Regions from separate parts of the Homo sapiens genome. Here regions 2 and 3 are each linked to region 1. Evidence: promoter capture Hi-C in human tissues and cell types (Jung and others, 2019). All regions are on one chromosome and are shown on one strand. Each heading gives the region's core, a stretch centred on a gene start or on the middle of the fragment in contact. The rest is flanking DNA. Distances are from core to core; before and after follow the strand shown. Region 1 holds the start of OR1N2 (olfactory receptor family 1 subfamily N member 2). Region 2 overlaps OR1B1 (olfactory receptor family 1 subfamily B member 1). Region 3 has its middle 4.7 kb from the start of OR1L3.

The links. Contacts are between HindIII fragments. The study calls those that stand out against the background at their distance.
Region 2: a contact is called between a fragment that was not itself captured here and the fragment with the promoter of OR1N2 in region 1, in 5 of the 25 tissues and cell types used here (dorsolateral prefrontal cortex, heart left ventricle, mesenchymal stem cells and 2 more).
Region 3: a contact is called between a fragment that was not itself captured here and the fragment with the promoter of OR1N2 in region 1, in 5 of the 25 tissues and cell types used here (heart left ventricle, liver, mesenchymal stem cells and 2 more).

The regions. Positions count from the first base shown.
Region 1 is chr9:122,551,341-122,554,438 of GRCh38, forward strand. OR1N2 (olfactory receptor family 1 subfamily N member 2) reads left to right here and starts at 1,772. Exons shown (of 1, transcript NM_001004457.2): 1 at 1,772-2,874. The coding sequence starts at 1,872. The coding sequence ends at 2,822. It also overlaps a transcript of OR1J2 not described here and a transcript of OR1L8 not described here. The HindIII fragment of the contact is 3,656 bases long and covers 1-3,055 here.
Region 2 is chr9:122,652,398-122,655,530 of GRCh38, forward strand. The region is part of intron 1 of OR1B1 (olfactory receptor family 1 subfamily B member 1); the gene reads right to left. Among named protein-coding and RNA genes, the nearest start is that of OR1B1, 3.7 kb to the right of the region's middle. The HindIII fragment of the contact is 8,888 bases long and covers 1-3,133 here.
Region 3 is chr9:122,668,870-122,672,034 of GRCh38, forward strand. No RefSeq gene overlaps it. Among named protein-coding and RNA genes, the nearest start is that of OR1L3, 4.7 kb to the right of the region's middle. The HindIII fragment of the contact is 7,685 bases long and covers 1-3,165 here.

The DNA of each region.
Region 1 (3,098 bases), core at 522-3,021:
TTTTTGAGCAGCTGCTTTGTATGAGGCACTATGGCTGGTGTGCTTTATTTAGGTTGCCTCATTAATTGAGTTTTGGAGTTTTTGAGGGTATTGTTTCCATCAGGATTATTCTCTTTAAGGAAATCGCCAGCAGAAATAGTTGTGTTTTAGTTTATACTCCTGATTTCTTCTTCAATGCAGTTTTACCTAGGACATGGGACAAGTGCTGACTTGCCTAATGCATATAGGCAGGAGTTCCCAGGTGACCTGCTAGTCAGGCTGAAGTACACTGCATTGCCAGCAAGAGGCTTCAGAATCACATTCCCGAGACCCACATTTGAGATCTTAACCCCTGGGAAAGAGAGGTCCTCAGCTCCCCTAGGATCCAGCCAGAGTTGGCTGGAGAACAGGCTGCACAATGACACCGAGGTCGACCTTAACGAGCACATTGGGAGATGGTGTTCTAGGAGCCTTTATAACCTTAAGAGATATTCCTGTCTTCTTATGCCCGGGGAAGCTGAAATCGAGCCATACACTTCAGGTATTTCTAATAAACTCTGGACTCAATAGACCCCGACTTTATTGCCTCTGAGTCAGAAAGGTCTCAGAGTTTTTTATTATGAATTATCCATCCAAGGAAGAGAATTGGAGAATTTGAAGATGCCTAAAACTGATCCATAATCTGACAGGTGAGGATTTGGAAGGGGTAGGACACATACACACACACACACACATACACTCTCTCTCTCTCTCTCTCTCTCACACACACACACATATACACCTTCCTTCCCAGTTCGATGATCAGGTGACCAGGCAAAAGTTTCCTGGGAAAGTGCTGAGTCTCTGCCTAAGGTCAGAAGCTTCTCTATGAACCAAAGAACAAATGGAGGACTAAAATAGTTACAAAAGCTTCTAAGGCCAAACTTCTACAAGATCAATATGAAATGGTTTCTCCTACCAGCTCACTAGGGCAGCAAAAAAACAGACTGGTTATTTTCAAACCAAAAAGTCAGGGCGATACCTTTCACCTTCCCTCCCTCTGGTTAAAAGTAAATATTAGATAAATGTAGTACAAATGTAGGGGTGAAGGCACAGGTGAACTAAAATATCAGTTCCCAGAGCAGATAGAGATGCATAGCAGCAAAAAAGGGAAGAGGACAGGGATAAAGGAGAGGAAGTGATGGAAGGGAGAGAGTGGCTCCCTGTCCTATTTGTATGCGTGTGTGTGGGAGGGAACATCCTAACAGTGGATGGGGGAGTACGACACCAGACACCTACTGCCCTCAGCTCACATATCCTTTGCCGCTAGTTAGGAAAGAGTACAGGACTGGTTTGAATGGGTGAGGTCAAATTCTCAGCACTGAAAGGCAAGTGGGGAGGAAGCTATCTTGTCTTAAAAGTCAATTTCAGCCCCCACAAAGAGGGCTTGAGTGTGTGTGTGTGTGTGTGTGTGTGTGTGTGTGTGTGTGTGTGTGTGTTGGAGGAGGGGTAGGAGTTTGATGGAGATCATGCATCTTCTTTCCAATTGACAATAACAAATGGCTTTTCTAATCTTGCCATCAAGCTATTCTCAATTCTCACTTCCTCTAAATAGCCCATGCCAATTTCTCTGGTCAAACAAATCTCTTTTCTTTGGATTCTGCTATAGCATACAAAGCACAATTGAGATTTGAATGGATATTATCTTAACTGTTCTCTAAATGTCTCTTGGGTATTTCCTTGCATTCCCAGTGAGATTCAGAGATTCTTATTGGCAAAGACCATTTATTTTTCTTTTCTTTTTCTCCCAGCACAGTTCTGGCCACACAGATGCATATCTGTAAATTGATCTAATAAATAAATACTGACACATGGAAGGTTTTTATCTGCGCAGATCACACGAACTACAAGGGATGGGAAAACCAGGCAGAGTGAACCAAACCACTGTTTCAGACTTCCTCCTTCTAGGACTCTCTGAGTGGCCAGAGGAGCAGCCTCTTCTGTTTGGCATCTTCCTTGGCATGTACCTGGTCACCATGGTGGGGAACCTGCTCATTATCCTGGCCATCAGCTCTGACCCACACCTCCATACTCCCATGTACTTCTTTCTGGCCAACCTGTCATTAACTGATGCCTGTTTCACTTCTGCCTCCATCCCCAAAATGCTGGCCAACATTCATACCCAGAGTCAGATCATCTCGTATTCTGGGTGTCTTGCACAGCTATATTTCCTCCTTATGTTTGGTGGCCTTGACAACTGCCTGCTGGCTGTGATGGCATATGACCGCTATGTGGCCATCTGCCAACCACTCCATTACAGCACATCTATGAGTCCCCAGCTCTGTGCACTAATGCTGGGTGTGTGCTGGGTGCTAACCAACTGTCCTGCCCTGATGCACACACTGTTGCTGACCCGCGTGGCTTTCTGTGCCCAGAAAGCCATCCCTCATTTCTATTGTGATCCTAGTGCTCTCCTGAAGCTTGCCTGCTCAGATACCCATGTAAACGAGCTGATGATCATCACCATGGGCTTGCTGTTCCTCACTGTTCCCCTCCTGCTGATCGTCTTCTCCTATGTCCGCATTTTCTGGGCTGTGTTTGTCATCTCATCTCCTGGAGGGAGATGGAAGGCCTTCTCTACCTGTGGTTCTCATCTCACGGTGGTTCTGCTCTTCTATGGGTCTCTTATGGGTGTGTATTTACTTCCTCCATCAACTTACTCTACAGAGAGGGAAAGTAGGGCTGCTGTTCTCTATATGGTGATTATTCCCACGCTAAACCCATTCATTTATAGCTTGAGGAACAGAGACATGAAGGAGGCTTTGGGTAAACTTTTTGTCAGTGGAAAAACATTCTTTTTATGATTAGACATCTAGACGGTGATGTCTAATCTTGATCAACCCCTCCCTGTCTTCCATCACTTCAGTAATTCTACTACTGTCATGTTGATATTAGGGGAAGGTTATCCGTTGACTCTGAGTTAGGGATGTAAAAAAAAAAAAAAGAGTGTTTCATTCTTTTATTAGGCTGTGGAATGAGATGTTCTGTCTCAGCCTCTTTCCTGACCCCAGTGAGGCAACCATTACTAACAGCAAAACTACTATTCCTCCTCACATCTCTAAAACCAGCATATTAGCCAT
Region 2 (3,133 bases), core at 336-2,835, 100 kb after region 1:
GTATCGGCAAAGTCAAAAACCAGGAAGAGATTAGGTTCAGACCTGGACTTAAATTTAAAACCCTCACTTTCAACTCCACCGTTATTGATTTAGTTTCACTTAAACCACATCATCTGTTCCATAAATAAGTGTTCTTATTTTGAAATATGTCTGCAATACTTTATTTAATTTGTATCTTTATTACAGGTTTAGAGTTAAATCTGTATATTGATACATTCATTAGGGCTTAGAATTTTCTGTTCATATATATTCTACTGACTTTAAAATAAAACAGGTTAACTCAGGTTCTATGTTTGTTGTTGTTTTTTTTTCATCTTAAAGTAACTGTATAATGCTCAAGTTTGATAACTTCAGCTCCAGATGATTTATCAAGGAATGATCCAAAATTAACCCTCATTATATTATCTATCTTAAATCCCTGGGGATTGGAAGGATATAGGGGAATAACTTTCATCTCTTGGTTCTTCAACTTGTCTCTTACGGAATGTAGCTCTCCTATAATCACAGTGGGGAAGTCAAAGCCCCCTGCTCCAAGCTAAGGGTGCCTGTGACACTAGGCTGTAATTTCCACAATGTGGGATCCACCTGGAGTCCCAGCATTACTGTGCTCAAAGTAACCAGGCACTCAGGACTAAGGCCAGCTAGACTGAGGACTTGGCATCAGCCCAAGATAAACAGACAGTCATAAGTGTTTTAAATTGACCAAGATGAAAAGGGACACTTTCCTTGGAGATAGAAAAGGCTCTGAGGAATATGAGAATGTACTGATGATAAAGCACTAGTTAATATGTATTAATGTAATATGTATTATGTATTAATGTTGACAGACACCATGCTACGTATTAAATGCTTTGTTCATTTCAGGCTCACAGTGCATCTTTGAGTTAGTACTATGAAAGGAAGTATAGCTTCATGTTTAGACTAACCAAGTCTGAGTTGTAATCCCAGCTCTAACACCCATCAACTGTGTGATCTTTGGAAAATATCTTAACCTGTCTATGCCTCAATTTTCTTACTTGTAAATGAGGAAGATAGTCCCTGTCTCATAATATTGCTACTATTAAATAAGTTTTCATAAAATTCTTAGAACACAGATTGACACATGGTAAATACAATATAAGACATTCTATTACTGTTGGTATCCTTCAACAGTAGGTAAATTGAGATCTTCCACTGTCTCATGTAAAAGTTTCAGAAAGATGAGTTCCTCATCTGTCTGAAACCAAGCCTGTGTTCTTAAACACCCACCATAGCACTTCCCCCTGGCTGAAATTGAGGTTATAAAAACAGATTTCTCCAACTTCACAATATTTCCCTTGGTAATATCTGAAGGAATTTATTCTTGTTAAGGAGAGAGGGGTTTTAAGTGGTAAGGATATTATTCAACCTGCTTACACTCAAGATCCCCTCAGACAGTAGAGAAAGAGCTCTTATTAATTGAGAGCCTACTAACAAAGATTCTGGACTAGACAATTCATGCATTTATGCATTTTTTGAGTGTTTATAATTTAGTTTCCATCAAATCTCTTTAACATATTATTAAATACTTATTTTCTCCAGTATTAAAAGGCAAATATTGAGCATAAGATATGCTCAAAAAATAAATTAGAGATCAACACAGTAAACATGCTCCAGAAAAAGAGACTCTTTTCCATACTCTATGTATTTTTTAATTGATCACCAACTATGTGAAAAGGGCTCTAATGGGGATTGAGGATGCAATGATGAAAAAAATAAATAATTATGTACCTAATGGAGCTTCCATTGTAGCTAGGATAAAAGATAAGACATAACTTCAAGTGTCATGTAAACAATCAAAGGGAAGAGTGCAATTACAAATGAGGACAGTTTTATTAGCCCTACTTTCCTGATGCATGACTGAGACTATACAAAGAGGTAGGTTCTTTCCTGAACCACAACTTGGAGAAGGTATCCAGAGCGAGACTTGCTCACAGCATCTATCTGATTCCAGTGCTCTCCTAAGACCCAGCTGTTTCCTTCGTGGGAACTCAGTGCTCTGCTGCATCAAGAATACTCCCCTTCTTTCTGCTCTAACCAGATGGGGTCCATTTCTTATGGTTTTGACAATATTTTTGTTTTTCATTTCAATGACCTCTGAAGATATACCAAATTTCCCATTGTCTTTCCTAGAGTTTCAGAGAAGAAAGTACCACTCCTTCTTTATTTCATCAAAACTTTTCATCCCTAAAGCTTATTCTTCCTGTCTAACTGAAACTTTGTACCCTTCAGTCAACATGTCCCCTTCACCCAACCCAACTCCATCACCAGTCTCTGGTAACCACCTTTCTACTTTCTACTTCTAATGAGTTCAACTTTTCTAGATTCCACATAGAAGTGAGATCGTGCAGTATTTGTCTTTCTGTGCATTACTTATTTCAGTCTGCATGATGTCCTCTAGATTTATCCATGTTGTCACAGATAACAGGATTTCCCCCCTTTGTAAGGCTAAATAATATAGCACAGAATGGTGACTATAATAATTATGCATTGTATATTTCAAAATTACTAAAAGACTTTAAATGTTTTCAGCAAAAACTGAAAATTACTTGTGGTGATGGATTTGTTAATTAGCCTGATTTAATCATCCAGCATTGCAAACATACATCAAAATATCACATTGTACTCCATAAATTACACAATTATTATTTGTCAACTAAAAATAAACATTTAAGAAAAATTCTCCATCATTCCAGGTCCTTCACTGCACCATTCACCCTGCTCCCCCAGGCACATTATTTTCAAAGCACTAAAACAACTTTTTAATATCAAAAGAAAGAATGTGTGATGAGGGGTCAAAGAGGAAGGAAAAAAGGAAAATACAGCATCCACCTTTAACTAATTTGGGAGTTAAATTTTCCCCACAGATCTATCTTCCTTCAAGTCCTCTCTACTCAGTGGGGTCCAGACTGTTCCTGACCAAAGCCCTCCTATTACCGGCTCCTTGAAAGTCCTATTCTGTGAAATTTCTCCTACTTTTACACATAAAATGACAGAGCCTTACCTAAATCAACCCAGACGCCCATCAACGATAGATTGGATAAAGAAAATGTGGCACATACACGCCATGGAATACTATGCAGCCATAAAAAGGAATGAGAATGAGAGATCATGT
Region 3 (3,165 bases), core at 163-2,662, 120 kb after region 1:
GCCGTTATGGACAACAGTATGGGGGCTCCTCAAAAAACTGAAATTATTATTACTATTACTATTTTTTGCGACAGAGTCTCACTCTGTCGCCCAGGCTGGAGTGCAGTGGTGCTATCTCGGCGGCTCACTGCAAACTCTGCCTCCCTGGTTGAAGCAATTCTTCTGCCTCAGCCTGCCAAGTAGCTGGGACTACAGGTGTGCACCATCACACTCGGCTGATTTTTGTACTTTTAGTAGAGGCGGGGTTTCACCATATTGGCCGGGCTGGTCTCTAACTCCTGACCTCATGATCTGCCCGCCTTGGCCCCCCAAGAGTGCTGGGATTACAGGTGTGAGCCACTGCACCCAGCCAAAAAACTGAAATTATTGTGTTGGATATAAAAATGCTCTAGGAAAAAATGCTTTGTGCCACAAAGTGAAACCAACACTTAGGCAAAAGTTGTCTCAGCAAGGCAATTCACTTCTGCAGAAGAGTGCCACTTGTGTCAATCAAGATCGCAAGAGCACAGGGAACAAAGGAGAGCAGTGAGTTTTTATCTCTGATGGTCGTTCTTACCTCTGTGTCACTCCGCCATGGGCTGGGGTCAGGCCGCACAATCTGAGCTGACCCAATTGGCTACTTGCAAATATTTTTCTAAATACGGAAGGGAAGGGGGACATGAGGTACAGTGGTAAAGCATGTGAGATGTCCAGTTTCAGGGGAACAATGGGTGCAGGTAACCAAGGGAATAGATGTGCATTATTGATTAGAGCTGACGGGAAGTGGATAGGCTATTTACAGTAACTAGGGGCAAGGAGGAACAAGAAAGTTGAGTTTGAAAACAAAGGACAAGGAAGTTGGGAGGCTAAATCTTTGAAGAGAAACTCAGAGAAATTCATTGTATCTTACAATTGATACAGGGGTTAAAAAGAAATTATTTAGGCAGTGAGTGAGGGTGAAAAAATACTTAGCGGGAATTTTCCTTTAATAAATAGCAGCTCCCAAATCATTTCTTTTCTAATAAAAAGCAGCATGAAAAATCAAGTTGCAAGCATAGATAAGCAAGCTGGAAACTTGCATAGGTAAATGCCAGCAGCTATGCCAGACACCACGTATATCCAACATGGCAATTCCCTCTTCCCTTTTCCTTGTTGCCATATGTGTGGGTGTCATGGCGCCAGCCAGGTGAAGGCTCCATTTGCATAATACAAGATAAAGTGGGACGGTCTGTTTCTTCACAGGCTATGTAAATGGCACACCTGGTCAAATCAAACCCCTGAGTCCTATGTAAATCAAACACTGACTCCTCAAGCCCCTCTATAAAATCGACCACATCTTACCCCAAACCTGGAAATCCACTTGGACACCCCCTTCCTCTGCATGAAGAAGCTCTCTTTCTCTCTCTTCCTCTCTCTTCTTTCTTATGCCTATTAAACTTTCCACTTTGTTCTCCTTAGTGTGAGACAACAAACGTCTGGTATTTCCCCAGACAATGAAACTCCTTCAATCTAACTACCATAGAATTCAGCAATCTCATTTCTGGGTATATATCCAAATGAATTTAAATCAGTCTTTCAAAGAGATATCTGCACCTCATGTTCATTGCAATATTGTTCACAGTAGCCAAGATATAGAATCAACCTAAGTATCTAACAACAGATGAAGGGATAAAGAAAACGAGGTGGCTAGGCACATTGACTCACATCTGTAATCTCCCCACTTTAGGAAGCCAAGGCCAGAGGATTGCTTGAGGCCAGGAGTTTGTGACTAGCCTGGGCCACATAGCAAGACACCATCTCTGCAAAAAAAATTTCTGTAATTAGCTAGATGTGGTGGCACATGCCTGTAGGTCTAGCAACTTGACAGGTTGAGGTGGGAAGATTGCTTGAGCCCAGGAGTTGAAGGCAGCAGTGAGTTATGACTGCAGCACTGCACTCCAGCATGGGCAACAGGATGAGGAAACAAAGAAAGAAAAGAAAAGAAAGAGAAAGAGAGAGAGAGAGGAAGGAAGGAAGGAAGGAAAGGGAGAGAGAGAGAGAGAAAGAGAGGAGGAAAGGAGGAAGGGAGAAAGGGAGAAAGAAAGAGAAAGAGAGAGAGAGAAGGAAATTTTGCATATTCCGTGTGTGTGTGTGTGTGTGTGTGTGTGTGTGTGTGTGTGTGTGTGTGTGTATTATTCAACCATAAAAAGAAGGAAATCCTGACATTTGCAACAACATGGATGAACTTGTAAGACATTATGCTAAGTGCAATAAACCAGATACAGAAGACAAATATCTTATAATCTCACTTATCTGTAAAATCTTAAAAAGTTGAACTTATAAAAACAGAGCGCACAGTGGTGGTTGCCAGGGACTGGGGGTGGAGGAAACGGGGAGATGTTGGTCAAAGGTCATGCACTTTCAGTTATAAAGTGAATAAGCTCTGGGGATCTGAAGTAAAGCATGGTGAACATAGTTAATAATATCATATTGTTTACTTGAAATTTACTAAGACAGTAGATCACAAGTGTCCTCACCAAACACACACACACTATGTGTGGTGATGGATGTGTTAATTAATTTGATTTTGACAATCATTTCACAATGCATGTATATATCAAATCATCAATTGTATACCTCGAGTGTATACCGTTTTTATTTGCCAATTATAATATAAATTTAAAATAAAATCCTAACCACCCCCTATCCCACCAACTAAATGAATGCCCAGGTAGCCAACGGGACTCCAGAAAAACCTTAAAACCAAGTTCCTGGCCATGTCAGGATGGTAGGTTAGACAGGCTTCACTATATACCCTCTCTTTTATGATGTAGACACAACAACTGATCAGCATTATTGTTAAAATAGACATCATAAGATGAACAGAACAGACTCTTAGTGGCAATAAGATACCAAATTATAAATGGGACCTATGGCCATGCCAGGCAAGGGTTAAGTCACACATCCCTTCACTTAAAGAATAAACTGTGTTCTAACTGCCACAAGGCTTTCCTCTTTCTCTAGCAGCTAACCCAACCTTGGCCTCAAGATAAGCAATATTACAACAATTTTCAGCTCCACAGATGCCGACTAACTGAACCTCAGCCCTTGTTCCACCAGCCATAACTACAGCTTTGATTGGACAAGAGACTGATTTTAGTAAATTTCTGCTGATAAAAAGATCACTGACCATGAACTGGTTCTGTC